Linked DNA regions of Homo sapiens: all the other regions are linked to region 3. The links are contacts of gene promoters, found by promoter capture Hi-C in human tissues and cell types (Jung and others, 2019). All regions are on one chromosome and are shown on one strand. Each heading gives the region's core, a stretch centred on a gene start or on the middle of the fragment in contact. The rest is flanking DNA. Distances are from core to core; before and after follow the strand shown. Region 1 overlaps LOC105371143 (a long non-coding RNA gene). Region 2 has its middle 130 kb from the start of CACNG3. Region 3 holds the start of CACNG3 (calcium voltage-gated channel auxiliary subunit gamma 3). Region 4 has its middle 97 kb from the start of RBBP6.

Region 1 (7,087 bases), core at 540-3,039, 220 kb before region 3:
CTTGGGGGATTAGACTGATTAGCTGATTGGCTTCAGGGAGTTGATACCCATTCCTGGAGTTAGGGATGGGGTCATTCCCAATCAATTATATGGCAGACATTTGGGGGAGGGATGTTCCTCCAAAGGGAAACTGGCTTGTAATTACCCGAAAGGCAGCCAAAACAACAGATGTCCACTACAGAGAATGTGTTTGAAGGATGAGTTAATTGGACCTAATTATGGCCCAATTTTTATTTGTTTTTTTTGAAATGATGAGTTGATTCCTTCTGATGATAGATGAGCTAATCACCATTTCTGGTAGTTTTCGTTCATATCCCACTTAGTTGACTCCTAGAGTTTTCTTTTATTGCTTTGCCCATACCAATGAATGCTTTCTCCCCCATTACATCTTCAGTGTCTCACCCAAAACTGAGCTCATAGTTTCAAGTCAAAGCAGAATACAGGAGCTGTGATTCTCATTCAGAGTGTTTTTTTTGTCTCCAAAGCCTAAAGACACTCCAAAGAGTCAGTGTCTTTCTGACCTGTAAGTTCATGTTACACGTGCAGACAGAACTTGTATGTGGTGATCAGACACCCCCAAACAAATGCATTGAAGGGGAATCTAGTTGGAGTCTATTTATTTATTTCGAGACAGAGTCTCCCTCTGTCACCCAGGATGGAGTGCAGTGGTGTGATCTCGGCTCACTGCAACCCTCACCTCCCAAGTTAAAGCAATTCTCGTGCCTCAGCCTCCCGAGTAGCTGGAATTACAGGCTTGTGCCACTGCACCACTAAAAATACTAATTTTTGTATTTTTAGCAGAGATGGGGTTTCACCGTGTTGGCCAGGCTGGTGCTGAACTCCTGATCTCAAGTGATCCGCCACCCTTGGCCTTCCAAAGTGCTGGAATTACAGGCATGAGCCATTACGCCTGGCCTGCATATTTTTGAACTTGTAGTATTTGTCTTTGAAATAGCAGTGAGCTTTTTGATTCCAAAGTTTTTGATATAAGTGCATGTGTGTGTGTGTGTCTGTGGGTGAAAGAGAGAGAGAGAGATTGGGAGAGAGAGAGAGAGAGATTGGGAGAGAAAGAGAGAGAGAGAGAGGAAGGACAAGGGTCAGGTAAGTGTGTCCTGTCTCCCTCCCTCTGGATCAAAACTCCTGCTGGGTGGGGTGAGAATGTGTAGTAGCAAAAACTGGAGACATATGGGGGAATCCTCAAGCAGTGGGGTATGGGCCCCAGTCCCCATTTGAGACTCTGGGATGCAAATGAGTCATCGGAAGCCCTGCACCAGCACAGAGTGGCTGCATTAGAGGAACACTGGTGGTGTCGTGTGTTTATGTAGAGAGGGCTTTCACTGGTGCCTTGGGTCTCTGTCAATTCCTGAGTGCCTGGGAATACCTCCAGCACTCCCCTCCACCATTACCAAGAGAGACAAAGAAAGTAATTGAATGTACTAGCTGTCTTTTTATTTTTTATTTTTAGTTTTTTAGAGACAGGATCTTGCTCTGTCACCCAGGCTGAAGTACTGTGGTGTGATAACAGCTCACTGCAGCCTCGACCTTCAGAGCTTAGGTGATCCTCCTGCCACAGCCTCCTGAGTAGCTGGGACTACAGGCATGTGCCACCGTGCTCAGCTAGTTTAAAAAATATTTTTTGTGGCCAGACGCGGTGGCTCATGCCTATAATCCCAGCAATTTGGGAGGCCGAGACGGGCGGATCACCTGAGTTCGGGAGTTAGAGACCAGCCTGACCAACATGGAGAAACCCCGTCTCTACTAAAAACACAAAATTAGCCAAGCGTGGTGGTGCATGCCTGTAATCCCAGCTACTCGGGAAGCTGAGGCAGAGAATCGTTTGAACCCGGGAGGCGGAGGTTGCAGTGAGCCGAGATTGCACCATTGCACTCCAGCCTGGGTAACAAGAGTGAAACTCTGTCTCAATATATATATATATATACACATATATATATATATATATGTGTATATATATATATATATGTGTATATGTATATATATATATGTGTATATGTATATATATATATGTATATATATATATGTATTTTTGTAGATACAAGGACTTACTATGTTGCCCAGGCTGTTCTCGAATGCCTGGCTTCAAGCACTCCTCCCACCTTGGCATCCCAACGTGTTGGGATTACAGGTGTGAGCCACTGCACCCAACCTGTCTTTTTATTATAGGGTCAACATAGGACTGTGTAGCCAAGAGCTACAGGATGGATTGCTGAGGCCAGGGAGATTGAAAGGAAGTCACAGCCCAATCTCAGAGGGATCCACGGAGCCAGCGAAAGCTAAGGCGGGACTTACCCAACAGAGGGTCCTGGCCCAGTCACCCAGTGGCACAACCCAACTGGGAGATCTGAGCATCTACCAACTGTGGCCACCAGTGAGATGGTGTCATTGTCTGGGGTAAATACCGGGGGTTTGTTGTCTCATGCCAAGGAAATCGAGTTTGCGGACACAAGAATTGGGTTTAGGAGCAGAGGTTTAATAGGCAAAAGAAAGAGAAAGGGTAACAGTAGGAGAGAGAGGAGTGCGCCAGTGGGACTTCTGACCCACGATGGAGTGCATTGGATTTTATAGACAGGCTTGAGGAGGCAGTGTCTGATTGACACAGGGCCCACAGATTGGTTGGACCAGGTGTGAGTTTTACATAGCGTGTGGGGAAGCTGGCCACGCCACCCTAATCTTATTATGCAAATAGGCTTTCCACTTGGCCGGCACCATGTTGTCTGCTGCCTAATGCACATGTGGTTGGAAAGGGAAAGGGAAGATGCAGCTGCCATTTTGAACATGCCTAGTCCCAGGTAGCCTTTTCCTATTGACACAGCTGCCGCATTCACCCGTGCAAGCTTCTGTGTCTGCAGCTCAATTTTACAGGCTGCTGTTTGTTAGAAAAGAAATGATTCAGGGGCTGCTTTTCATTAAAAGGAAACCTTACTGAGGACTTCCTTACCCTCACTGTCTGCCTAAATAATTTCTTCTTTACTCCTATATCACCGGCATCAGAGGCCAGCAGAAGTCTCAGTGATCGGGCAGGACAAAGGACATTTCTGCAGAGAATACTGAAGGTCCAGGAGACAGCACAGTGGGACATATGTGGGCCCCTGCCCCATCATTAGGAGGAAGTGTAGGCTTTTCTGAGGACCTGGATGCCATACCATCTTGAGACAGAGAATGAGGAACCAACCCTTGACAAGAGAGAGATGGCCCTGGTAGAGAATTTGAACCTTGAATTGGATTGAATATTTATCCAAAAGAAATTGAACCAGCACTAGAGAGACTGTTTTGAACTAGAAGTAACCAAGTTACCTTAACTGGAAGTTAGGATTTTTCCACCCCTGACATCAGTGGGACAAGGGCACATGAGCAAGATATTTACGGACAAAGAAGAACGTTCATGTTTTGTACACCTGCTTTGTAGTATGTTGCAGATACCGTTGGTTCCCCTGATTTCAGGTGTTCTCGTTCTTTCTGTACAGTCACTTGCTCAGGGCAAATGGTCCTCTCCTGCATGACTCAGAAGCACATACTGATTATTCTAAACTGGTCTTCATGCCCCGTTCCCTTGTCAGTGATGTAGTTAGGCAAAGGATTATGTAACAATTCTGGCTATGAGACATTGAAACTTCTACTGTGGGGCATCTGGGAAGATTTTTCTCATTGAAAAGAAGAGACGCAGGGTGTGGAGACTCATGCCTGTAATCCGAGCCCTTGGGAGGCCCAGGAGGGAGGGTCACCTGAGTCCAAGAGCTCAAGGCCAGTTCGAGCAACATACCAAGGCTGCAATAAACAAGCAAACAAACAAACAAACATTAGCTGGGCACGGTAGTGCACACCTGTAGTCCCAGCTACTCAGGAGGCTGAAATGGGAGGATTGCTTGAGCCCAGGAGTTTGAGGCTGCAGTGAGCTATGATTGCACCACTGCACTTCAGCCTGGGCAACAGAGCGAGATCCTGTCTCTATAAAAAAATTTTAAAAAAAGGAAGAAAAGAAAAGAAGAGACACACGTGGAAGAAACAGTCTCTATTCTGATGCAAGTAATGACTGGAACTGTGGCAGACAGCTTGGAACCATGAGAGGAGTTAACTGAGGGCTATCAGGGAAACTAGAAGAAGCCTGGGTCCTTGAGGAGGCAGACTACTAAATGGACCATCGTCCCTTCACCCTTTTTGTTATGTGAGATAATAAACTCTCTAATTTAAATCTACTTGAGATGAATATCTGATACTTGTAGCCAAAATCATCCTTAATGGGACAGAGTGTGGGTAAATTATCAACCTTGCTAGCCTTGCCTCATAATTTTTGAATTTATTTTTATCTTTTAATTTTGTTTATTTTTTATTTTTAAAGTAGAGACAGGATCTCATTATGTTGCTCAGGCTGGTCTCGAATCCCTGGCCTCAAGGGATCCTCCTGCCTCAGCCTCCTAAAGTGCTGAGATTACAGGTATGAGCCCCTATGCCAGGCCATTGCTTTGCCATTGTATCCATGTGATTGCAAAAAAGAAAATCGTGCTAATAGTCATTAGCTTTGAAAGACACTTGGAATTTCTTCCTTCAAGCGAGCTTTATTCCCAAACTGTTGAACCCTCTGGGTTTGACAGCAGGATCTACTTCACATGGTAGCATCTCCTTCTATTTGCCTTCAAGACATTTCCTAAGGGAAGAGATGAAGACACACTTGTAACGTGAACAAAATAATCCTTTTTCCTTTTAAAAATGTATGATTAAAATGTAAAATATATATATATATTCTTAAATGTAAAATATATATATATATCTTCTAGAGTTGCCTGGAAAGTGAGCTGAGAGCAGTTAAACATCAAACCCACTGCTGCTTTCCAGCTTTAACCAGAATCACCATTGTCTTTCCCTATGAAAGAAAGGAAATCTTAGAACTTAAAAGGATTTCAAGAAGAACTGAATTTTAACCACTGAGATGACCAGAGATGTAAGGCTCACACTGACTGAAGCAGTATAATTTGGCTGTCTTTTTAACATTCAGAATTCTCTCTGACTCTCCAAAATTGCATCTACTTTGATGAGCTTATTTTTTTCCTCAACCAAATTACATTTCTTGGAGTTCACCTGATACATCATGCCTACTTACTTTTTTTTTTAGATGGAGTCTTGCTCTGTCACCCAGGCTGGAGTGCAGTGGTGCAATCTCGGCTCATTGCAACCTCTGCCTCCCAGGTTCAAGTGATTCTCCTGCCTCAGCCCCCCAAGTAGCTGGGATTACAGGTGCGTGCCACCACGCCCAGCTAATTTTTGTATTTTTAGTAGAGACAGGGTTTCGCCATGTTGGTCAGGCTGGTCTCGAACTCCTGACCTCAAGTGACCCACCTGCCTTGGCCTCCCAAAGCGCTGGGATTACAGGGGTAAGCCACCATGTCCAGCCCTGCCTACTTACTTTGAACAAATTATTTCAGGCTAATTTACTAGCTGGAGAGAAAGAGGGAGGGAAGCAGGGAGGAAGCAAAGATAGAGGGAGAGAAAGAGAGGGAGACAGAGAGGAAGAGGGAGAGGGAGAGGAGAGAGAGAGAAAGAATGAATTGTGTTCTCCCAAAATTAGTATGTTGAAGTCTTAATATCCCAGTACCTCAGACTATGACTGTATCTGTAGATAGGGCTTTTGAAAAGGTGATTATGTTTAAATGAGGCCATTGGGGTGGGCCCTAATCCAGTCCAACTGTTGTCATTGTAAGAAGAAGAGATTAGGACACAGAGATACCAGGCATGTGCGTGCCCAGACAGACAACTATGTGAAGAGACAACAATAGGTCAGCCATCTGCAAGCTGAGGAGAGAGGCCTCAGAGGAAACCAACCCTGCCGGCACCTTGATCTTGGAGTTCCAGCCTCCAGAACTGTGAGAAAATGTATTCCTGTTGTTGAAGCCATTTCTGTTGTTCTGTGGCATTTTGTTATGGCAGCCCTAGCAAACTAATATGATAATTAACTCTTCCAAGTGCTGTTTCCATTACAAAGTATCCCAGAATTTTATATTGGTGAATCTGTGTTCCTCAGGCCATGTCTTCCCTGTTGGAAATGCTGTTATTATGTCCCAAGGTGACTTCAAGGAGTGGGTTAGAGGCTGAGACAGAGGGTGTGAGATCGTCACTACTGTAACCTTGCTTTGTTCAGTATGAACATGCTCAGATATTCTCTGTTTTGTATTGGGAGATCGGGAAAGGATTTATTGAAAAAATGTTTCCATTAGCAAATGAAGTTTGAAGGCAACTACCGTCTACAAGAGCAAACAAATGCATAAAATTCAAATATTATTTTGTCCCAACCTCAGTGTCATGAGGGTCTCTTATACAGAATAGTAGATGAGAATAAAATTTGAATTGATAATACTGGAATAGAGTAGTCATTATGCAATGTAACAAACCTCAAATATTCAGTGGTTTAACACTATAGATGTTTATTTACCACTCATTCAATGTATGTGTTCCTTGTTAGCAGTAGTTTTCCTTGTAGTCATTCAGGAATCCAGGCATATTAGTTATCTATTTCTGTGTACCCCATAAAAACCATTTATTATTGCACACTTTCAGAGGGTCAGTAATTTGGGAGTGGCTTAGCTGGGGTGTTCTGACCAGAGTCTCTCTTGAGGTTGTAGTCAAGATGTTGGCTAGGGTTGCCATCATCTGAAAGCTTGACTGGGACTGTATCCACTTTCAAGATGGCGCACTTACTTGGCTGTTGGCAGGAAGCCTCAATGACTTATCATGTGGTCTTCTCCACAGTGCTGCTTGAGCATCCACACAACATGGCGCTAGCTTCCCCCAGAGTGAGTAATCCAGAATGAAGAAGACAGAAACCACAATATCCTTTATGAACTGGCCTTATAAGTAATATTTTGTCATTTCCATAAAGTCCTATTGGTTACACAAGACTGCCGTATTCAATATAAGAGTGACAACACATGGGGATAAATACTTGGAGGTGTAAATCATTGGGAACCATCCTGGAAGTTGCCTACAATACTAGGATCTATGGCTACAATTCCCTGGGTCTTGGCTTCAAGACAGAGAAAAGGGAAAGAACATGAAACAGCCCCATGTGGTTTTTGTTTTT
Region 2 (6,963 bases), core at 4,067-6,566, 130 kb before region 3:
ACTCAGGAGGCTGAGGCAGGAGAATCACTTGAACCTGGGAGGCGGAGTTTGCAGTGAGCCAAGATCACGCCGCTGCACTCCAGCCTGAGCGAACGAGAGAGACACTGTCTCAAAAAAAAAAAAAGAAAGAAAGAAAGAACGAGAAAAAAAGTAAATGAGCAGCCTGATACACGAGGAGATAGTAACAAAGTAGTCTCCCAAGCAAGCCGGAGTCACAGGTGTTTTGGTTCTCTATAGAACCTAAAAGATAACATTTTTTTTTTTCTTGTGATGGAGTCTCACTCTCTCGCCCAAGCTGGAGTACAGTGGCAGGATCTCAGCTCACTGCAACCTCTGCCTTCCGGGTTCAAGCAGTTCTCCTACCTCAGCCTCCCGAGAAGCTGGGATTATAGGCACCTACCACCATGCCCGGCTAATTTTTGTATTTTTAGTAGAGACAGGGTTTTACCATGTTGGCCAGGGTGGTCTTGAACTCCTGACCTCGTTATCCGCCCACCTCGGCCTTCCAAAGTGCTGGGATTACAAGTGTGAGCCACTGCGCCCGGGCAAAAATAACATCTTAACACAAGTTCTTGAGTTGCTTTTCAGAAACCCCCACCAGTTAGAAAATGCTACCACCATCACATAGACACCAGGTGGGGGAAACTGAGGACGGAACTCTGACAGCCATTCTTTGTTCTAAAATTTCCTGGGGTTGTGGAGAGAGTCACACACATGGGCCAGACTTTCATGTATTGGTTTATGATTTTGCCTGCAATTGCTGCTTTCCTGAAATGTACCCTTGTCTTTAAAAACCCTTGCTTGTAAGTCACTGGGGAGTTCAGGTCTTGAGTGTTAGCTATTCATTGTCCTTGCTTGGTACCATGCAGTTAATGCCCTTTTCTCCCACTGCAAATCTCAGCATCAGCATCTGGCTTTATTGCACTGGGCAAGCAAGCCCCAGTTTGGTTCAGTCACATCTGGTGATGGATGGGAGTTACTGCTGGTGAGCTGGTCCTGTGTTGTGGAAGAAGAGCTGGACACAGTGTAGGGAGAGCAAAGATAAGCTGGAACCCACCAACACCTCTGGACTGTCCTCACCACCTTGAACCTTCAGAGTGCCCTGGTGCTGCTTCCCTCCTGCCTCCCACATCTCATACACCTTCACTTTTGGCAGCTCTCACCAGGAGCCTGATAGGGAAGGGGATTCCAAGAAGCATGACTCCCATTGGAACCAAACTGACTGTAGAATAATGCAGTGCCTATGCAACGATGTTTTTGTTCACCAAATGTGGCTAATAGCGTCATGTCCTCCTCAAGCTGTGAGATTGTAGGGCCCTCGAGAGAGAGGCTTTATATTTCAACACACGACACAAGTACAGCACCTTTCCCAGAGCTGGCAAGGGGAGGAGGTGGCCACCGCTCCTCTTTCCTGTTCCCATCTCCCTTTAAGAGAATTGGGTCAGATTCCAGAACAAGGGGCCACATTTACCAGTGGCCAAGGTCACAGTGCATTGACATGATATTTGTGGCCATCTTTGGCTGCAGAGGTAAGAGCAGTGGTTCTCAACCTTGGCTCCACAATGGGGTCATCTGGGGAGCTTTACAAAATACTCACGCATTGTCCCTCTACCCCAGGAGATTCTGATACAATTGATCTGGAGTAACAGTCTGGCATCGAGATTTTTAAAAATCTCCCCAAATGATTCTTTTTTTTTTCTTTCCTTTTCTTTTTTTTTAAGACACGGGGTCTTGCTCTGTCCCCCAGGCTGCAGTGCTGTAGCACAATACAGCTTACTGCTGCCTCAAACTCCTGGGCTCAAGTCGTCCTCCCACCTTAGCCTCCTGAGAAGTTGGGACTACAGGTGCCTACCACCATGCCTGGCTAATTTTTGTATTATTATTATTATTATTTTGAGATGGAATCTCGCTCTGTTGTCCAGGCTGGAGTGCAGTAGCACGATCTTGGCTCACTGCAAGCTCTGCCTCCCAGGTTCATACCATTCTGCCTCAGCCTCCCTAGTACCTGGGACTACAGGCACCCACGACCACGCCTGGATAATTTTTTGTATTTTTAGTAGAGACGGGGTTTCACCGTGTTAGCCAGGATGGTCTCAATCTCCTGACCTCGTGATCTGCCTGCCTTGGCCTCCCAAAGTGCTGAGATTACAGGCGTGAGCCACCACGCCCAGCCATGTATTATTATTATTTTTATATGTAGAGATGGGGGTCTCACTATGTTGCATACGCTGGTCTCAAACTCTAAGGCTCAAGCAATCCTCCCGCCTCAGCCTCCCAAAGTGCTGAGATTACCCAACCTAGGACTGAGGAGAATGGGTAGCCACTATGTCCAGCCTACCCCAGGTGATTCTAATGGGCAGCCAAAGTTGGGGATAACTGGAGGGTCAAGACCTGAAGCTTGGTAGGCTCCTCCTCTTCCAGGCTTTCTTCTTTCCCATGCAGCTAAAAAGTTAAATGAAACTGAAGCTAGCTGGCCTTCTTGGGGTAGGTCTGGGTGTTACAGAACAGAATGGGGGTCTACTCACTGGTGAAGCAAAGCCAAATCCTGACATTAGGATTGCAATAAGAGAAAGTGTGGCCTTTACTAAGGGTGCCAAGCAAGGAGAATCGGGCAGCTAATGCCTCAGACCTGAACTCCCTGATGGCTTACAAGTAAGGGATTTTTTTTTTTTTTTTTAGATGGGGTCTTGCTCTGTCACCAGGATGGAGGGCAGGGGTGCGATCTCAGCTTACTGCAACCTCCACCTTCCAGGTTCAAGCAATTCTCCTGCCTCAGCCTCCCAAGTAGCTGGGACTACAGACACGCACCACCACACCCAGCTAATTTTTGTATTTTTAGTAGAGATGGGGTTTCACCATGTTGGCCAGGATGGTCTCGATCTCCTGACCTCGTGATCCACCCACCTCGGCCTCCCAAAGTGCTGGGATTACAGGTATGAGCCACTGCACCCAGCGCAAGTAAGGGATTTTAAAGTCACAGGGGGAGAGGTTACAGACAAAGTCATAAATCAATACGTGAAGGCTGTACTTTGGTTTGACCAAAAAAGGTGGGACTTCTTGAAGTAGGGGCCCACAGGTCACAGGTGGGTTCAAAGATTTTCTGATTTGTGATTGGTTAAGGAGATGAAGATTTGTTTGAAGATTTGTTTAAAGATTTGGGATCAGCTGAAAAGACTGTTAGCTCTGGCTTGTGGATGTGACCCCTTTCAGGTCCCTCAGGAAGAAATTTAGGATGAAAAATGGGGCCGGGTGTGAAACCCTGTCTCTACTAAAAATACAAAAATTAGTTGGGCGTGGTGGCACCTGCCTGTAATCCCAGCTACTTGGGAGGCTGAGGCAGGAGAATCACATGACCCCAGGAGGTGGAGGTTAGAGTGAGCTGAGATTGTGTCACTGCATTCCATCCTGGGCAACAGAGGGAGACTCCATCACAAAAAAAAAAAAAAAGAAAAATGGCAGTCAGAGTTCCATCCTCAGTTCTCCCTTTTCTGAGGGCTGCCTCCCAGTGGATCCATTTGGTGGGGGTCCAGATTTCTGAAAAATAAGTCAGGCACATTTGTTAAGATTTTTGTCTTTAGTTTTTATGGGGAACCAAACATTCTCATGACTCTAACATCCTTGGCTTTTGTTTTAAGCACCATTACCATCTTGCTTATCAAATTGCTCATTTACTTCTCAGTCCTAGCTAGGTGCCTGGAATTTCCCTGGAAATGTAACTGCCCAGTGGGTTCACCTTGCCTGCTGCCTAGACAGAGCCAATTTCTCAAGACAGGAGAATTGCAACAGAGAAAGAGTAATTCACGGAAAGCCAGCTGTGCGGGAGACCGGAGTTTTATTATTGCTCAAATCAGTCTCCCCAAGCATTCGGGGTCACAGTTTTTAAGGACTACTTGGTGCGTGGTAGGGAAGCCAGTGAGCCAGGACTGCTGAGTGGTTAAGTAGGAGATGAAATCATAGGGAATTGAAGCTGTCCTCTTGCGTGGGGTCAGTTCCTGGATGGAGGTCACAAGATCAGATAAGCCAGTTAGTGGGTCTGGGTGACGATCCATCAAGTGCAAGGTCTGCAAAATATCTCAAGCACTGATCTTAGGAGCAGTATAGGGAGGGTCAGAATCCTGTAGCCTCTAGCTGCATGACTCCTAAACCATAATTTCTAATCTTGTGGCTAATTTGTTAGTCCTGCAAAAGCAGTCTAGTCCCCAGGCAATGAGGTTTGTTTTGGGAAAGGGCTGTTATTGTCTTTGCTTTACACTATAAACTAAGTTCCTCCCAAAGTTAGTTCAGCCTAGGCCCAGGGCAGCCTGGAGGTTAGAAGCAAGATGGAGTTGGTCAGGTCAGATCTCAGTTACAATTTTGCAGTGGTGGTTTCAGAAGGAACTCAAGCTTTTCCTTTATTTCCTTGCTTTCATGGTCGAGGGTTGCCCAGAAGGCCCCAAGAGGAGTCCCTGCTTTGTCTCATGATCACTTTTTCTTTCCTCAACACTCTTTGCTTTTGTCTCAATGACCCACTGATGATAAGATGTGGACCAATGGGGAACAAGAGGTTCCCCTTAGGTCCGAAGGTCAAGTCATCAGCTTCAGCCCAGTTGACCAGAGATTCCTGCATGTACTGACACTCGCTCCTCTTCTCCACACAGCTGTGAGGGGTGATCCACGGGGTCAGAGAGAGGCTATCTCAAAATCCTCTGAGATTCTTTAATTTTTCCTTCTTTTTTTTTTTGACAGTCTTGCTCAGTCACCCAGGCTGGAGCGCAGCTTACTGCAAACTTCTGGATTCAAGCAATTCTAGTGCCTCACTAAATGTGACTAATAGGGTCATGTCCTCAAGCTGTGAGTAGCTGAGGTTAGAGGTGTGCACCACCACGCTAATGTTTGTATTTTTAGTAGAGGTGGGGTTTCACCACTTTGGTCAGGCTGTGATCTGCCTGCCTCAGTCTCCCAAAGTGCTGGGATTACAGACATGAGCCACCGCTCCCAGCCTGAGAGTCTTAAAAAATCCTCTTGTCTGGGCCCCACTGAGGACCAATTAAATCAGACTCTCAGGGAGAGGTGTTTTGTATTTTATATAATTTTGCTTATTTTACAAAAATTTTTATTGAGTTACATATTACACTAGGATACATTAATCTTGAATCTTGACTGTACAGCTCAACAAAATTTTTTTTTTAGTTAATTTGTTTTGAAAGAAGGTCACCGAGGCTGAAGTGCAGTGGCATGATCACCACTCATTGCAGCCTCACCCTCCTAGGCTCAGGTGATCCTCCCACCTCAGCCTCTGGAGTAGCTAAGACTACAGGTGCAAGCCATCACGCCCAGCTAATTTTTAAATTTTTTATAGAGATGGGGTCTTGCTATGTTGTTTAGGCTGGGATTCCTGGCCTCAAGCAATCCTGCCATCTTGGCCTCCCAAAGTGCTGGGATTACAGGTGTGAGTCACCATGCACAGCCAGCTCAATGAATTTTTACATAAGTTTATGCCTATGTACCACCACCCAGATGAAGCTTTAGAACTTTTCTAGCACCCTCTAGGAAGTTCCTTAAGTCTCTCCTGATTCAGAATGGCTGGGATCCTGGCTAAACCCCCCCCAAGCCTGGAACGGTGGCCCTAAGCGAAAACAGCTGACCCCATTTTTCCTCCCAAATGTTGCCTTTTTGGCCTGCCATGCCCCTATCCTGTGTCCATAAAAAGACTACAGCTGGAAGAGCAACACAAGTGGCTGAGTGGTACACAGAGAAGCAACTGAGCATCAGAGACTATGGATAGACACAGCTGACTTCAGACTGTGCAGCTTTAGAGAGAGGCCCAGCCGGAGATGTCCCGGTTTCAGGGAATGATCGCTTTCTTCTCACACCATCCCCTTTCCAACTCCCCATCCCACTGAGAGCCACTTCCATTGCCCAGTAAAATCCTCCACATTCATTACCTTTTCAATCCGTTCCTGTGACCTGATTGTTCCTGGACTCTCGACAAGATCCCGGGTGCCAAGAGGGCAGGGGCTACCACCCTGACCCTCCAGTGAGCTAGTTGGCACTTTGCTGTCCCTGGGTGGCAGAGCTGAAAGAACACTGGTTGTAATATACTTGGATGCTGCTGTGGGGCCGCACAGAGCCTGCTCCTGCCATAGAGGAGCAACTGGCCAGTTCCAATATTCATTCGCTCCAGTTCCCACCCTCACTTGCTTGCATGCTCCCTCTTGTGAGGAGTGGCCAGTAGTGGGCTGAGATAAATGAGCCACTCCAGTTCCCTCCCACAAAGTGGGTGAAGGGAATTATCCTGTCTCACTCATAGGCAGTAACTCCTGCCACCCCACCAGAACAGGGCACCACTATTCTGACCTCTGTACCTCTAGATTGGTTTTGCCTGTTCTTGACATCATATAAATGAAGCTGTATAGTATGTGAGATTCATCCACTTTGTGGGGACAGCAGTCATTCATTCCACTGACGAATATATCACAAATTATTGATCCATCCTATTGATGATGAAAATGTGGTTGTTTTCAATTATTTGGCTATCGTAACAAAAGCTCCTATGAACATGTTGTACACTTTTTTTTTTTTTGACATGGAGTCTCACTCTGTTGCTCAGGCTGGAGTGTAGTGGCAAGATCGCAGCTTACTGCAACCTCCACCTCAAGTGATTCTCCTGCCTCAGCCTCCTGAGTAGCTGGGATTACAGGCTCTCACCAAAACACCCAGCTAATTTTTGTATTTTTAGTAGAGACAGGGTTTCTCCATGTTGGCCAGGCTGGTCTAGAACGCCTCACCTCACGTGATCTGCCTGCCTTGGCCTCCCAAAGTGCTGGGATTACAGGTGTGAGCCACTGTGCCCTGCCTGTACACTTATCTTTTTTTTTTTTTTTTTTTTGAAACAGAGTCTCACTCTATCACCCAGGCTGGAGTGTAATGGCACAGTCTCGGCTCACTGCAACCTCTGCCTCCCAGGTTCAAGCGATTCTCCTG
Region 3 (7,247 bases), core at 3,388-5,887:
TGATTGTCTCCAGGACTTCATGAGGTTTTCTTAATGAGAGAGTCACATATTGAACACGTTCTCATTCAAATTCACAGGCCACTATTGATAACACGCAGCAGGTTAGGGCTCTACTTTGTGAATGCCTCCCGTGCTTTCCAGTTAATGAGTTGGGCGTTCTTGTTGGCTTCCCAGTGTGGGTGTCTCTACACAGGTCAATTGTCTCTCCATGCAAAGCGTGTCCTTTGCTGCCTCTAAGTTTGTGTGTGTCTGGTGTCTCCTGCATCCCTGCTGATGCTGCACAGGCACAGTGAGTGCTCTGAGATCTGAAACTTCTGAATGGAAAAACCCATGTGCCTGGGCATTTTCACAAACTAATGTTTGTACCAGTAGCAGGCTACCCACCAAAGCATGAATTAATGTTTTCTAGCAAATACTCAGAGAGGCAGCACGACTAAGGTTAAGTATTGCCTGCTGAGTTTAGGTGTGTGACCTTGGGCAAGTTATGTAAATCCCCCAGGGCTCAGTTTCCTCATCTGTAAAATGAGGGTAATAATAGTACCTACACAACTGAGCTGCTTTGAAGATGAAAGAGTTAATTTTTCAAAATTCTTCGAACAGCCTGAGCACATAGTAAGTGCTAAATGTAAGGGATATTCTGGTAGGTTAGCTTATTTTTTCCTAGGTATTTTTTAAGGGTTGAAAAAGTGATTATTGACTATTAAAGAGTAATTCAGGAGTCAAATATAAAAATATCAGAAATTTGGATTAAAAATGCCATTTAGGTAATTTACAAGGCTCAAAACTGGCAGCCCATGGGCCAAATTCAGCTACAAGGTAAACTTGGTTTGGCTGATCATGTCACTCAAGGAGGAGAAGGATATAACTTACCTACAGAAATGAAAACTGGAAACATCCTTCTCCTCCTTGAGTGATGGGATCATCCTTAAAACACATAGTCAATACCAGTGCAAATACCAATACATGTTGGCTTTAACATCATAATTGCTTGGAGCACCTTTAGAAAACTCAGATTTTCCTGGTCTACCTCAGACCTATGGAAGCAGGGAATCTAGTTGTGGAGCCCCTGATAATCTAATTTTTTAAAAGTTCCTCATGAGAATCTGATGACCAGCAAAGTTGGGAAACGATGTAGTTTGCTTATTCTTGAATATTTTTGGTGTTGGAAGACCCATCACCTGCCAAAGCTTCCCATTCCACATTGGATAGTTATTTATATTGAGGTAAAACCTGGTTTCCTCTAGCTCCTACTTCTACCTCCTTGAGGCCACACAGAACATCTCAAATCTCTCTTTCATATGACAGCCCTTCAGATATTTGCAGACAGCTGTCATGTTCTCCTTGGCATTCTCTTCTTTTGGATAAAATAATCACATTGTCTCATGGCTCTTTAAAAAAGCACAGAAGAACAAACATTTCTAATTTGACCTCTAAGAAAATGGAGCTACGAAAACCCCCAGTTTTCATTTGACACTTAAAGGACCAGAAAATGAGGATTTTGAGGCTCAGGTGTAGGTAAGAAATACTGAATGGGAAAGGACTGTTCATCTTCATTCTAGCAAAGGATGGAAATGCCTGGGATGGATGCTACCAACTGCATGTGACTTCCCATGCAGAAATCAGAGGCTTCTGCAAATTCCCCAAACACTTGATGTGTTTAGTACACATCTTGGCTTCAAATTTCAGCCAGGACCCACCTAGGTGTTAATTACATGGGTGCAGCCATAGCTAATATTTTATTGTGATTCATTGTGATTTGTGCATCTTACTGTATTTAATACTTCAAAAAAGTGAACAACAACAAAAAAAGCCAGGCCAAGTTGTATGGGGACTGCAACACATTTTCTCAATAGAATTCACCTGCCCAAGGTTATGTCTTCAATTCATCCAATTCCTTCTTGATTCAATTTCTCACTTCTCCCACTAAGCCTACAGAATGCCTGGCTGGGGTTTCAATTCCTTGTACAAACTGTGGGTGTAGGACTTGATGTTGGAAAAAAGAGAAATCATCAGTTGAGAAATTCTTAGCAAGTGTTTAGAAATTTTAGGTCCTACCTCTGCTCTTATAGATATATATTTTTTTCATAGATCATAATGAGGAACGTCAAACTTCATTTTTAATTGTGCATTCTCAGGTTTGATTCCCAGAGGCAGAAGAATTGGAAATGGCTAAAGCACTGTATACATATGTGCCATTTTTGGCTTGGAGGAACCTTAGAACTTCTATGCCATCTCTAGAACCATGTAGATATCGCAACATCCACCAAATCAGTTTTACAAAAGATAATTCAATTCCTTATAGCCAATATAAGAAAGGGAAATATGGAATTTCCCTGAGGTAAATGACTTCACCATACCCAATCACAAATGCTCACAAATATCCAACTTTTGTCATTGTTTAGGAAATAATTATTCTAGAATTTCTGTCAGTATATTGAATACAGTATAAGCTTTAGATAATGTTAATTCAAGACCACCTAATCCAAACGTATCATTTCCCAGATGAATAAACTGAGAGTTGGAGAGGGTAAATGTCTTAACCAAGGCCACAGCGATACTTTGCAGCATTACCCAGGTCTTCTGACTTCACATGATCCTTGCTGCATTAAAGGTAGCCCTTTCCTACCTGGGCTTCCCACCAGTTGCAAATTTGTGTTAGAAACAGAATCAATTGTAGTAGCGCTACGGTCAGGAGAGCAGTTGTTCAAAGTGTCAGGACATGGGAAAAAGGCCAGAGAATGATGCAATATTACACTGGCAAGTGATGTCATAGCATGATTTCCCAAGCGATTTACATAAATGCAAGTTCTCAAGAAGCCCTGACAAATGCCAGCCAGTGAAAATGCAGTGTGAAGAACCAATGGCAAGCAGGGGAGGGGACCACACAGGAAACGCAGATTTCCTTGCCCACCACTGTGACAAGCTTCACAGATTTCTCGGAAGCCTAAGAAAACCCCTACTGCCCCTCTAATCCAGTGACTTCCCTCAGGCACATAGGCTCCAAAGAGCTTTGATTTTCTTCCTTATCTTTCTATTTACTCCCAGTGATATCCAAGCATTGCCTACTGGTGCTGAGAGTGACTTCTGGTGTGGTGAAAGCAAGTTTAATAGTGTGATAGGCTACAAAAGGGCTTTATATTTTTAAATTGCTCTTTCTTCTTCATTATAAGTTATAACTACTCCCTAATTTTTAGAACTAGAAATGACGAACTGCAATTCTTGGAGAATCAGTCTTTTGTAAATGTCATGGAAATACCTTTTTAGGGGTTTGGGAATGATTTAGGAATGAAGACAGGTGGATACAAAATACCAAGACTTCAGTTTTGTTGTGATCCAAACTAATAAAACATGTATCAATAAGGATTTTTTCTTAAAATGTGTGCATAGGGTGTGGGTGGGAGTAGGGGTTTACATATGTTACCCTGTTACTGATTGGCAGTGGAAGTTCATGACAATATCTAGTTAGAGCAAACTCAGGAGAAACTGATAAGTCTATGTTGAGAAATAATGAAATAGCTCAGAATGTGCCAGACCGGGTCAGGATCTCTCTCTCTCTCTCTCTCTCTCTCTCTCTCTCTCTCTCTCTCTCTCTCTCTCTCTCTCCCCCCTCACTTCTTTCCTCTTGTCCCTTCTCCTCCCTTCCCTCCCCCTCCCTTCGAAATCCAATTTAAGCAGGGTTAAAGACCCCATCTCAAGCCAGAGATCCAAGCAGTTGACAATATGCCTAGGGATTTTGGATTTGAAGACTTTTCTAAACTGCAGAAGCTGCCTAGAGTGTGACAAAAATCTCATCTCATGAAGCTTATACTAAAAACAATCAACAAGACCCAACCCCTTTAACCCACATGGCGTCAGTCTTGCTGTTAACAGAGTCTGGGCACCTGCACATTCTCAGCAATAATTTGAACTTCTCTTCTTTCCTTATCACCATTTCCATCTCCTCCAAACACCCACCAGAATATCAGAACTGGATTATTCAGAGCTATTGAGAGGAAATTGTAAATACCTTCTAGGCAGCAGGTCCTCCACAGCCCCGAATGGGTCATTACTTCTTCATTCTTCCTGCTGGTTTCATTATCACTTGTAGATTTAGTCCTGCACACACCTCTGGAATATAACCAGTAGTCCGTGCCCACTGCAATGGTCATTAAACTAAAAGCGGCAAAGGCTCCTACAGTGGTGATCAACATCTGGATACCTCTGTCACACATCCTCATAATTCTTCATGGTACTCTGGACGGCTGGGGGTTGGAGGGGGAGAGTCAGTGCCGGAGGGGAAAATCACTCTGCAGCCGGGTAACCTAGTACAGGCTCTTCCAAAAATTCAGGTCTCCTTTTGTCAGCATCCACAGGGACTTTGGGAAAGCTGGGATTTCCTTTCTGGAGCTCTCTCCAGTTCCCTGGGTCGCCTATGGCCCTCGGAAGGGTGCAGGCTCCGGGGGGTTGGTCCGCATCACTGCTGCCTTCTGAGGGTCCCTGGGTTCCTTTCATTCCTCAGGAGCGTGGTAAAGACGAGGGTCCGTGCAGGGCATGGCTCCGGAGCCTGGAGCTGCCAGCTCGGTTTGAGATGCGCCTGGCTTCTCACAGCCCCGGGAGACTCAAGGCAAAGAAACCCAGAGAGGTCTCTGTGTGAGTGTGTGTGTGTGTGTGTGTGCGTGCGTGCGTGTGTGTGCGAGCGCGTGTGCTGGGGGTGAGGGCGGATGGCAAAAAATAGCACTGCTGGGAGGCGAGCCGCTGAGAAGAGTGTTCACTGCTTCCACAGCCTCGCAGGAAAGCTCTCCGCCTGCTCCCGACACCCCCGCTCAAACTGGAGAAAAGACAGAGTCCTGGGGCGGGGGCCGGCTGGTTTCCCTGGGGGCGCCAAGGTCCGTGGTGCTGAAGGGACAGCTCCCCGCCTGTTGCCCCGCCTCCGTCGTCTTAACGCCTAGGCTTTAAGGTCCGTGGTGCCGAAGGGACAGCTCCCTCATGCAGCTGCACACCGCCGCCCGGGCTAGAAACCCGGGGTGCTAAAGGGTCTTTCTTCCCTCACCCCGCCCTTCCCCCGTTCCTTCCCGGGTCAGCCAGCCGGCTCGGCTCTGCCCAGTCAAGCCCACTCTCCGCGCAAAGTTTCTGGAGCCGAGGACAGTCAGCGCCCTGGCTCCTGGGCGCTGCAGCACGACCCGGTTCCTCCGCTCTAGGAAGGGTTAAGGAAAGGGGAAGGGGAGCGAAGCCCGTAGCGCACTCTGGCGCTCCCTCAGCACCCACCCAACGCGGCATTCTTCAATCCTCCCTTTCACCCCATGAGCCAGGCAAGTTTGCCTTTTGCTGCGGGCACCACTGGAGCCCATTGGGGAAAAAGAAGACCCGAAAGACCGAGTCTTCTTAAAGGCACCGGCAGCTCTGGAGACGGCTCTATGGCTCGCTTAGGCGGGCAAAAAGTGTTGTCACAATCACATCTGTGTAGAGTCTGTCTCAATTTGGTTCCCCAGCAAACAAACCAATATGTCTACCCTCCTTTCTCTGGAGCTCTGGTTTACACCGAAGACAACCCGCTCAGATCAGACCCGGAACTGTTCATATATACATGATCATGTATTCCTAAAAGATGGAAGAAGCTAAATATACATAGACTCTGTCATACACATATTAGGGACCTTGGGCAAAAGACTATAAGATTTTGGCCTTTGAATATGCCTTTTATACATTTTAACATATCTACATCGAAGGGGGTGATGGATTCATGGTGGGAGAGTCACTGAAAATGTCAGATTTTGTTCAAAGGTCTCTGAGATATCATTTGTTAACATTGTTATCTAAGTGAGACCATGAAGCAGGTGAAGTTAGGTCTGCTTTGCTTGTTAGTCCAAAGGGCAAATGGCATTGCACACCTGAAAGCTCTCTTCCTTGGAAATAGCCAGTATTGCAAAGGACCAGCATTTAACCAGCTTTTTATTACTATGTATTCCGGCATATGCATGGGCACACACCGAGTTGACTAGAAACAGCCCACAGAAATGCCCTTATTATTTTTTTTCTTATGGCATCCTGGGACTGATATCCAGAGGTCAGATAGTTGGAAATGAGGTTGCTTGGGTTGTTTCCACAGTTCCTGAGATGTGTCCGCAACCAACTGTCATGTTTGAATGTTATTTAGCTGGACAGAAATATAACGGGAGGTAATCGCAGACAAACATACTCCCCTGGTGCCATCTCTGGCTGCCTGGGAACTTCTATTCAGGTGACTGGGTAGCAGGAATATATTGAAGGGTTCGCAAATGCAGCTCACAACTTCTTGGTGACTTTGCTACTTTCATTTTGGTGTTAAGACTGAAGACTTTATTCTTGGTGTTAGATAAATACTCATGTGCAGGAGGAAGTTTGAATATATAGCTGTGGAGTGATTGTGTTTGAATGCTCACCTGTGCTATGTTCAGTTTAGTTATAAATTCTGAATGCCTGTGAATCCGTCATAGAAGTAAAGCAAGTATGTAAATGTATGTTTGTACCTGCAGACAGTGTTATGGACCATGTGAACATATTTGCTGCAAATGCCTAGCATTTTTGCTATGCATATGCATACATATTTGCACATGTATGTGTATGCATGCACGTGTGTAGGTATAGTATAGATTTGAATATGTAGGTGTGTATACCTATGAGCATTTAGTTGCATATGCATGTGTCGTGGTTCAAAAACACTGATTTATGGACAGGAGGTAGAAATACTGAAATCTTGCCACATAATCCACAATGGAATGGATAAACTTGGGGCCAGCACCACAGCCGTACTCCAGAAGAATGACAGAAGATAGTAGGGAGAGGATACACGAGGGCCCCTACAAGTTTCTTAGTGTCATTTTCTTTCCTGAAATGAAAATTTGCATCTTAATAAAAATATCCTGCCTTGATTGTTATTACCTTTCTTTTTTAAGGGAAAGCCATATGTAACATGGAGGTGAGGTTGGTATTTCTTGGGAGGGATTAATTCAGTTAGCAAAAATTTCTCTCCCCACTCTCAGAAAGGTAAATAAGATGAAATAATTACTAATGATCAAAGCAGTCATTTCAGGATCTGTTTGATTCTTCTCTTGCTTGGATAGAAGTGAGAAAGGTCTTCTTTCAAAGAAGGACCATGTTGATGAAAGGTGAGTGAGCTTCGGGCTAAGGGACAGTATGCCCCAATCTCTCCATTTACCAGACCCACAGTGGAACAGCAGCATCTTCATCTCCACCCACTTAGCTCTACAACAGAAGCGCAGACAAGCAGA
Region 4 (7,777 bases), core at 3,052-5,551, 190 kb before region 3:
CAGTGGCAAAATCTCGGCTCACTGCAACCTCTGCCTCCCGGGTTCAAGCGATTCTCCTGTCCCAGCCTCCTGAGTAGCTGGGACTACAGGCACATGCCACCATGCCTGGCTAATTTCTGTATTTTTAGCAGAGACAGGGTTTCACCACGTTGGCCAGGCTGGTCTTGAACTCTTGACCTCAGGTGATCTGCCAGCCTCAGCCTCCCAAAGTGCTGGGATTGCAGGCGTGAGCCACTGCACTTGGCCAGAATCACATATTGTTAATGGAAGAGAAGTTTGTTCCTACTACTAACCCACAAAACTCTTCGACACCAGATGTCTGGGGGCTTTTTCTCCTGTCAACCAATTCTCTTACCCCCGCTGGGTGTCCTACAATGTAATTCAATTCTGACACTATGTACCAGGAGTTAACCTCTGTTAATAAAAAAATAAAATTTTGTAAAATATCTTAAAGAGGTTTATTCTGAACCAATATGAGTGGCTCAGGGAAAACCCAAACCCAAGAAGCCTGGAGTAAGGGATCCTGAGGTGGTCAAATTACAGTTTGGCTTTATAATTGTAAGGAGGCAAGAGTTACAGGCAAAGACATAAATCAATACACAGAGGTTTTACATAGGTTCGGCGCAAAAAATTGGGACATCTTAATGCAAGGGCTTACATCTTACAGGCAGATGCAGAGATTCTTTAATTTGCAATTGGTTAAAGACGTAAGGCTCTGGCAAAAACTTGGAGTCAGCAGAAACAAGGGTTTTCAGTGAAGGATGCGATGTAGCAAGATTGATGGTCTGCGGGCATGATTAAACCGTTGCCCTGCGCGGCTTTTGGTCCTGATTATACTTTGGTATCTTATTGCCACAAATAGTCTGTTCCATCAGTCTTAATGGTCTGTAGTTTAACATTAATGCTTGTCAGGTATTGTATCTAAACCCTGAAAGGGAGCGTGCATAATGAGGTGTTTCCAACCCTTTCGCGTCATGGCCAGAACTGAGTTTGTTTGTTTGTTTGTTTGTTTGTTTTTTGACACACAGTTTCACAATTGTTGCCCAGGCTGGTGTGCAGTGGCACAATCTCGGCTCAATGCAACCTCTGCCTTCCGGGTTCAAGCAATTATCCTGCCTCAGCCTCCTGAGTAGCTGGGATTATAGGCGTCCGCAGCCACCCCCGACTAATTTTTTTTTTTTTTTTTTGGTATTTTTAGTAGAGACAGGGTTTCACCATGTTGGCCAGGCTGGTCTCCAACTCCTGACCTCAGGTGATCCATCCATCTTGGCCTCCCAAAATGCTGTGATTACAGGCGTGAGCCACCGCGCCCAGCCAGAAACTGAGGTGTTTTTTTTTTTTTTTTTTGAGATGGAGTCTTGCTCTGTCGCCCAGGCTGGAATGCAGTGGCTCGATCTCGGCTCAGTGCAAACTCTGCCTCCCGGGTTCACGCCATTCTCCTGCCTCAGCCTCCCAAGTAGCTGGGACTACAGGTGCCCACCACCACGCCTGGCTAATTTTTTGTATTTTTTAGTAGAGACGGGGTTTCACCGTGTTAGCCAGGATGGTCTCGATCTCCTGACCTCGTGATCCGCCCACCTTGGCCTCCCAAAGTGCTGGGATTACAGGTGTGAGCCATCACACCCAGCCAGAAACTGAGTTTTTAAGGTTTCTTTGGGGTCCTTTTGGCCAAGAGGAGGTCTGTTCAATCAGTGGGAGACTTAAGATTTTATTTTAGTTTAAGCATCAGACCCCACAGGTTAACAGCTCAGTCGCACAAGACCGCCCTCACTTCAGATGCCAATCCTGGAGCTCCAGTACTTTTTTTTTTTGAGACAGGATCTCACTCTGTTGCCCAGGCCAGAGTGCAGTGGTATGCTCATGGCTCACTGCAGCCTTGAACTCCCAGGCTCAAGCAATCCTTCCCCCGCCAGCCTCCCGAGTATCTGGGACCACAGATGCATACTACCATACTTGGCTAACTTTTAAATTTTTTATAGAGATGGTGTCTTTTTATGTTGCCCAGGCTGGTCTTGAACTCCTGGCCTCAAGTGATCTTTCCATTTGGGCCTCTCAAAGTGCTTGGATTATAGGCATGAGCCACTGCACCTGGCTCCTCAGTACTTCTAACCAACCAGCTCTAAGTTTCCCAGGATCTACTCCTTGGGTTCAATAATTTGCTAGAATGGCTCACAGAAATCAGGAAAACAGTGTGCTTACTAGATTACCAATTTATTATTTTAAAAAACCCTCAGGAACAGCCAGATGGAAGAGGTCCACAGAGCAAGGCCTAGGAGAGGGGTGTGGAGCTTCCATGCCCTCTCCGGGCACATCACCCTCCCAGCATGTCTGTGTCTTCACCAACCTGGGAGCTCTACAGACCCCACTGTTTAGGGGTGTTTTGGGTGGAGGCTTAATCCTGCAGGCATAATTGATTAAATCACTGGCCATTGGTGACTGTCTTCCTTTCCAGCCTCTCTTTCCTCCCTAAAGGTTGTGGGAGTGGGGCTGAAAGTTCCAAACTTTTTGTTTTTGTTTTTTTTTGAGACGGAGTTTCGCTCTCGTTGCCTGGGCTGGAGTGCAATGTCACGGTCTTGGCTCACTGCAACCTCCGCCTCCCGGGTTTAAGCAATTGTCCTGCCTCAGCCTCCTGAATAGCTGGGATTACAGGCGCCCGCCATCATGCCCTACTAATTTTTGTATTTTTAGTAGAGACGGGGTTTCCACCATGTAGGCCAGGCTGATCCGGAATGCCTGACCTCAGGATATCCACCTGCCTCAGCCTCCCAAAGTGCTGGGATTACAGGCATGAGCCACCGCGCCTGGCCTGAAAGTTCCAAACTTCTAATCACATGGATGTGATTCCCTCTGGCAACCAGCCCCAAGCCTGAAGCTATCTAGGGGACCCCCCCTTGAGTCATTTGCATATACCATTAGCATATACTCAGGTGTGGTTGAAAGGACCTTACTATGAATAACAACAGATGCCCCTAACATTCTGTCACTCAGGAAATTACAGGAAGCTCTTGTACCAGGAACTGGGGAGAAAGACCAAGTATGTATTTCTTATTACATCACAATATTACGGTTTCCCAAATGAAAACGAGCAAAAGTGAGGTTAATTGTTGAGGTAGGGCTGGAAACAACAAATTCTATAGACCAGGGGTCCCCAACTCCTGGGGTCACAGACCATGGCCTGTTAGGAACTGGGCTGCATGGCAGGAAGTGAGCTCGGCGAACCAGCATTACTGTCTAAGCTCCATCTCCTGTCAGATCAGCAGACGCATCAGATTCTCATAGGCGGGAGAACCTTATTGTGAACTGCGCATGTGAGGGGTCTAGGTGTTGTGCTCCTTATGAGAATCTAATGCCTGATGATCTGTCACTGTCTCTCACCACCCCTGAATGGGACCATCTAGTTGCAGGAAAACAAGCTCAGGGCTTCCACTGATTCTACATTATGGTGAGTTGTATAATTATTTTATTATATATTACAATGTGATAATAATAGAAATAAAATGCACATTCAATGTAATGTGCTTGAATTATCCCCAAACCATCCATCTCCCTCCCTGCTGTCCATGGAAAAATTGTCTTCCACGAAACTGGTCCTGGTTGCCAGAGAGGTTGGGGATGGCTTCTACAGACTGTAAACTATAGGGGAAAACCTATAGGGAGGCTCAGATAAATCTGCTTCATAGGTAAGAGCAGAGGCTCAGAGGGAATTTGTCCACCTTCAAAATGCCCCTTGTTATGTGACCCTGGGAAGGTCATATAAAGAAAGTTACAAAAAGAGGAGAGGCTGGGCATGGTGGCTCACCCCTGTAATCCCAGCACTTTGGGAGGCTGAAGCGGGTGGATCACTTGAGGCCAGGAGTTGGAGACCAGAATGTGCAACATGGTGAAATCCCTCCTCTACTAAAAATACTAAAAAGTAGCCAGACATGGTGGTATGCACCTGTAATCCCAGCTACTCCAGAGGCTGAGGCACAAGAATCTCCTGAACCCGGGAGGTGGAGGTTGTAGTGAGCCAAGATCACACTACTGCACTCCAGCCCAGGTGACAGACTGGGACTCTGTCTCCAAAAAAAAAAAGGAATATCAGTAACTGCTTCATAGGGCCGTTGTGAGGACTGAACGAAATGATACACATGAAGCATTTAGCAGGGTGCCTGGTTCATTGCAAGTATTGACAAAACATGCCCTCCACATCCAGGGGGTGTGGGGAGAGACAGTCTAGTCCCTGACCCCAGCCCTGACCAGCTTAATACCTACCCTAGAGCCCACCCTTCGGAATGGAGTGTAAACTTCATGTTTAAAGCCTTCTGGCACTGAATAGAAAAGATGTAGCTCGGAAAACTCTTTTAGTTAGGCTCATGGCTCTAGGGCTCAGTCGGAGATTATTTGTTTTTTCTTTTTTTCAGTGCTGCCAATGCTGGGGATGAGAGTTGGCAGAAAGAGGGTTTTTAGAGGATGGACTTTTTTTATTCCCATGAGATACATGTAACTGTCAGCTGCGCCTCCCCCTGTGAAGGTGTTATTGAGCAAATGGGCTTGCAGCCTGATGTGCATGGAAGCCAATAACTGTGGCACCAGAATTTGAGAAAAGAAAGGCTTTACTGCGAAACCGGCCAGCAAGGAGACAGGAGTCAGGCTCAAATCTGTCCCCCTAGGGCTAGGCGCAGTGGCTCACGTCTGTAATTCCAGAACTTTGAGAGACTGAGATGGGAAGATCTCTTGAGGCTAGAAGTTCGAGACCAGCCGGGACAACATAGTGAAACCCTGTCTCTGTAAAAAATAAAAAATAGCAGGTCGTGGTGTTGTGCACCTATAGTCCCAGTTACCTGGGAGGCTGAGGAGGGAGGATCGCTTGAGCCTGGGAGGTCGAGGCTGCAGTGAGCCATGATTATGTCACTGCACTCCAGCCTGGGTGATACAGCAGTATGCTGTCTCAAAAAAAAAAAAAAAATCTGTCTCCCTGATTTGGGCTCTGGGACAAGTTTTAAAGAATCAGAGGACAAGGGAAAAGATTTAGGAATGTTAGCTTGGCAGGGTTTGATTGGAGGGCTTCAAATTTGACCATTTATAGTAAGATATGTTGAGGTTGGGCTGGGCATGGTGGCTCATGCCTATAATCCCAGCACTTTGGGAGGCTGAGGTGGGTGGATCACCTGAGGTCAGGAATTCGAGACCAGCCCGACCAACATGGTGAAACCCTGTCTCTACTAAAAAAACACAAATTAGCTGGGCATGGTGGCACACACCTGTAATCCCAGCTACTCAGGAGTCTGAGACCGGAGAATTGCTTGAACCCAGGAGGCCGAGGCTGCAGTGAGCCGAGATCGTGCCATTGCACTCCAGCCTGGGTGACAGAGCAAGACTCTGCCTCAAAAAAAAAAAAAAAAAAAAAGATATGTTGAGGCTGATTTTGGCCCAGATCTTTCCAGCCAGTGAAACCCTTGCTTTCGAAGAGTTCTGGTGTTCAGGTTTCGGCCATGTCCCGGTCTTCTTGGTTCCAAAGGGGAGGAATTGTTGGTTCTTGGTCTTGTCAAAGCTTTTTCTATTGCATATGCCCAGGCTGCCTGACTTGCAGCTTTTGGCTCTGTTACGTCTAAAAGACAAGCCCACATTTGCTTATAAACAGAGTAGGCCCAGTTTGGGCTGGTCCCATGGTTACAAAGGGAAGTGACTCAGTCACCGAAATCAGGAAGCATAGATTAGCCTATTGGGACCAGGACTTTGGTGCCCGTCTGACAAGGAAAGAGATGGGTCCCAGGCAGCAACCACCTGCCCCTTCTTGCTACTGCATTTCATGGCTGCCACCATAGCATGCATGACTACGGTTTCTGAGCAGCAAAGGCTGGGGTGGGGCCCAGGAAGTCACAAGAACCTTCTGTAGGGATGTTCCCATTTGGGTCGGAAGGGTGGATGAGACTAAAAATACCACCTACATGACATATTTACTCTGCTCTTGTTAATACCCTAGAGAGATTGCCAAGAGTCACTACCACCAAGCCTGTGATTAAGCCGTAATAACCACTTTTGTGTTTATAAATTTTGTCCTTGATATCAGAGAGGAGTATTTTTAGGCTAGAACTTGGAGCTAACAAATCCCATTGCAGGAGTGCGGATTTAGGCAAGCATCTCTCAAGGAGAACTTCCCAGGGCACAGCAACTAGGCCAGGAGAGATCTGTCCATAGGAATAAATTGGGAGGCTCCAGGCACCATGTCTCCATCTTGTGGAAAGCTTTGTAGGGAAAACTCTCCCCAAACTGCACTTTTCCTCTACTCTCACGCTACAACAATCATCAACACAGAAGAAGACTTCTGTGACCAAATGTGTGGGTTTTTTTCCCCACACACCAAGCAGTGGACCCCAGCTGGGTGTCCTCTAATTCAGTTCCTTCACTATCTACTTGGAGATAGTGTCAGATCCCAGGCTCAGTCCCCAGTACTGTCCCCCTACCACACTAGTTGCAAGTCTGGCCTCTGGAACTTCAAGTTGGGGTTCCCATGATTCACTGAACTCAGGGAAACACTTACTTACATTTGCCATTTGTGATAAAGGATATTTCAAAGGATACAGATGAAGAGATACATAGGGCGAGCTATGGGGGAAGGGGCGTGAAGCTTCCATGCCCTCCCTGAGTGCAGCATCCTCCAGGAACCTCCACGTGGTCAGCTATCTAGAAGCTTTCTGAACCCAGTCCTCTTGCTTTTTTATGGAAGCTTCATGACATCAGCATTCCTTCCCCCAGAGTATAGGGTGGAACCCTCTAATGGGAGGGTCTTAAGACCCACAATCAGAAAGGCGGGTAACATTAGAGTCCTGCCTTGGAGCAGGTGAAAGGAGGGTAGGGAGAAAGCCAAAGGCCTGTCGCTGAGGCCTAACACACCCAACAGGACCACAAATCACTGTAGCAAAGGCTGTGGGAGTTAGGAACCAGGAACCATGGATGAAAACCAATACGTATCATAACACTACAGAAGCTAATCACACCAGGGCGCACATCCCTTTAACTCAGGGCACCTTGGCAAATGTGGAAGCTTTGTGGATATCTGTGCCTTTTTATTTTTTATTTTTCATTTGAGACAGGGTCTCACTCTGTCACTCAGGCTGGAGTGCAGTGGCATGATCACAGCTTACTGCACCCTCAACCTCCCAGGCTCAAGTGATCCTCCCACCTCAACCTTCCAAGTAGCTGGGACTACAGGCACTCGCCACCATGCCCAGCTAATTTTAAAATTTTTAGTAGAGACAGGGTCTCACCATGTTGCCCAGGCTGGTCTTGAATTCCTGGGCTCAAGTGATCCTCTGGCCTCAGTCCCCCAAAGTGCTGGGATCACAGGTATAAGCCACCACACCCAGCCATATCTCTGCTTTTCTATCCTCCCACCCTCATAGCACTACTTATTCATCCATCCATCCATCCATCCATCCATCCATCCATCCATCCATCCATCCATCCATCTGTCTATCCGTCCATCCATCCGTCCATCCATCTATCTGTTCATTAATGAATTCATTCAACATATATTTATTCAGACAGGTCCCTGCTTTCATGGAGTTTACATTCTTGTGGTGGTGGTTGCCAACTGGAGGACCAGACAATAAACAAATTAAAAACACAGTGCCATTTTGGATTGAGTACTCTGATGGAAATAAACAGGAATAAATGCTGTATAGGACCTGGGCAGACAGGGCTGAGGTAAGATCAAGGAGGTAACAAGCCACTGGGAAGGAGCCAGCCATCTGAAGAGCCAACTCTATCGTCTGCTTTGCTGACCCAAACTCTC

Evidence for each region. The method cuts DNA at HindIII sites, captures the fragments that hold promoters and counts their contacts. A contact is called where the count stands out against the background at its distance.
Region 1: a fragment that was not itself captured here is called in contact with the fragment with the promoter of CACNG3 in region 3 in 2 of the 25 tissues and cell types used here (H1 embryonic stem cells and dorsolateral prefrontal cortex).
Region 2: a fragment that was not itself captured here is called in contact with the fragment with the promoter of CACNG3 in region 3 in 3 of the 25 tissues and cell types used here (H1 embryonic stem cells, dorsolateral prefrontal cortex and mesenchymal stem cells).
Region 4: a fragment that was not itself captured here is called in contact with the fragment with the promoter of CACNG3 in region 3 in 4 of the 25 tissues and cell types used here (H1 embryonic stem cells, heart right ventricle, lymphoblastoid cells and 1 more).

The regions. Positions count from the first base shown.
Region 1 is chr16:24,474,208-24,481,294 of GRCh38, reverse strand. It overlaps LOC105371143 (a long non-coding RNA gene), which reads left to right. Exons shown (of 4, transcript XR_950928.3): 2 at 2,182-2,409. Among named protein-coding and RNA genes, the nearest start is that of RBBP6, 62 kb to the left of the region's middle. The HindIII fragment of the contact is 5,939 bases long and covers 1-4,758 here.
Region 2 is chr16:24,386,207-24,393,169 of GRCh38, reverse strand. No RefSeq gene overlaps it. Among named protein-coding and RNA genes, the nearest start is that of CACNG3, 130 kb to the right of the region's middle. The HindIII fragment of the contact is 3,851 bases long and covers 3,391-6,963 here.
Region 3 is chr16:24,253,725-24,260,971 of GRCh38, reverse strand. It overlaps CACNG3 (calcium voltage-gated channel auxiliary subunit gamma 3), which reads right to left and starts at 4,637. Exons shown (of 4, transcript NM_006539.4): 1 at 4,007-4,637. The coding sequence starts at 4,217. RefSeq lists an enhancer at 4,162-4,889. The HindIII fragment of the contact is 9,462 bases long and covers 3,363-7,247 here.
Region 4 is chr16:24,438,379-24,446,155 of GRCh38, reverse strand. No RefSeq gene overlaps it. Among named protein-coding and RNA genes, the nearest start is that of RBBP6, 97 kb to the left of the region's middle. The HindIII fragment of the contact is 9,139 bases long and covers 1-7,777 here.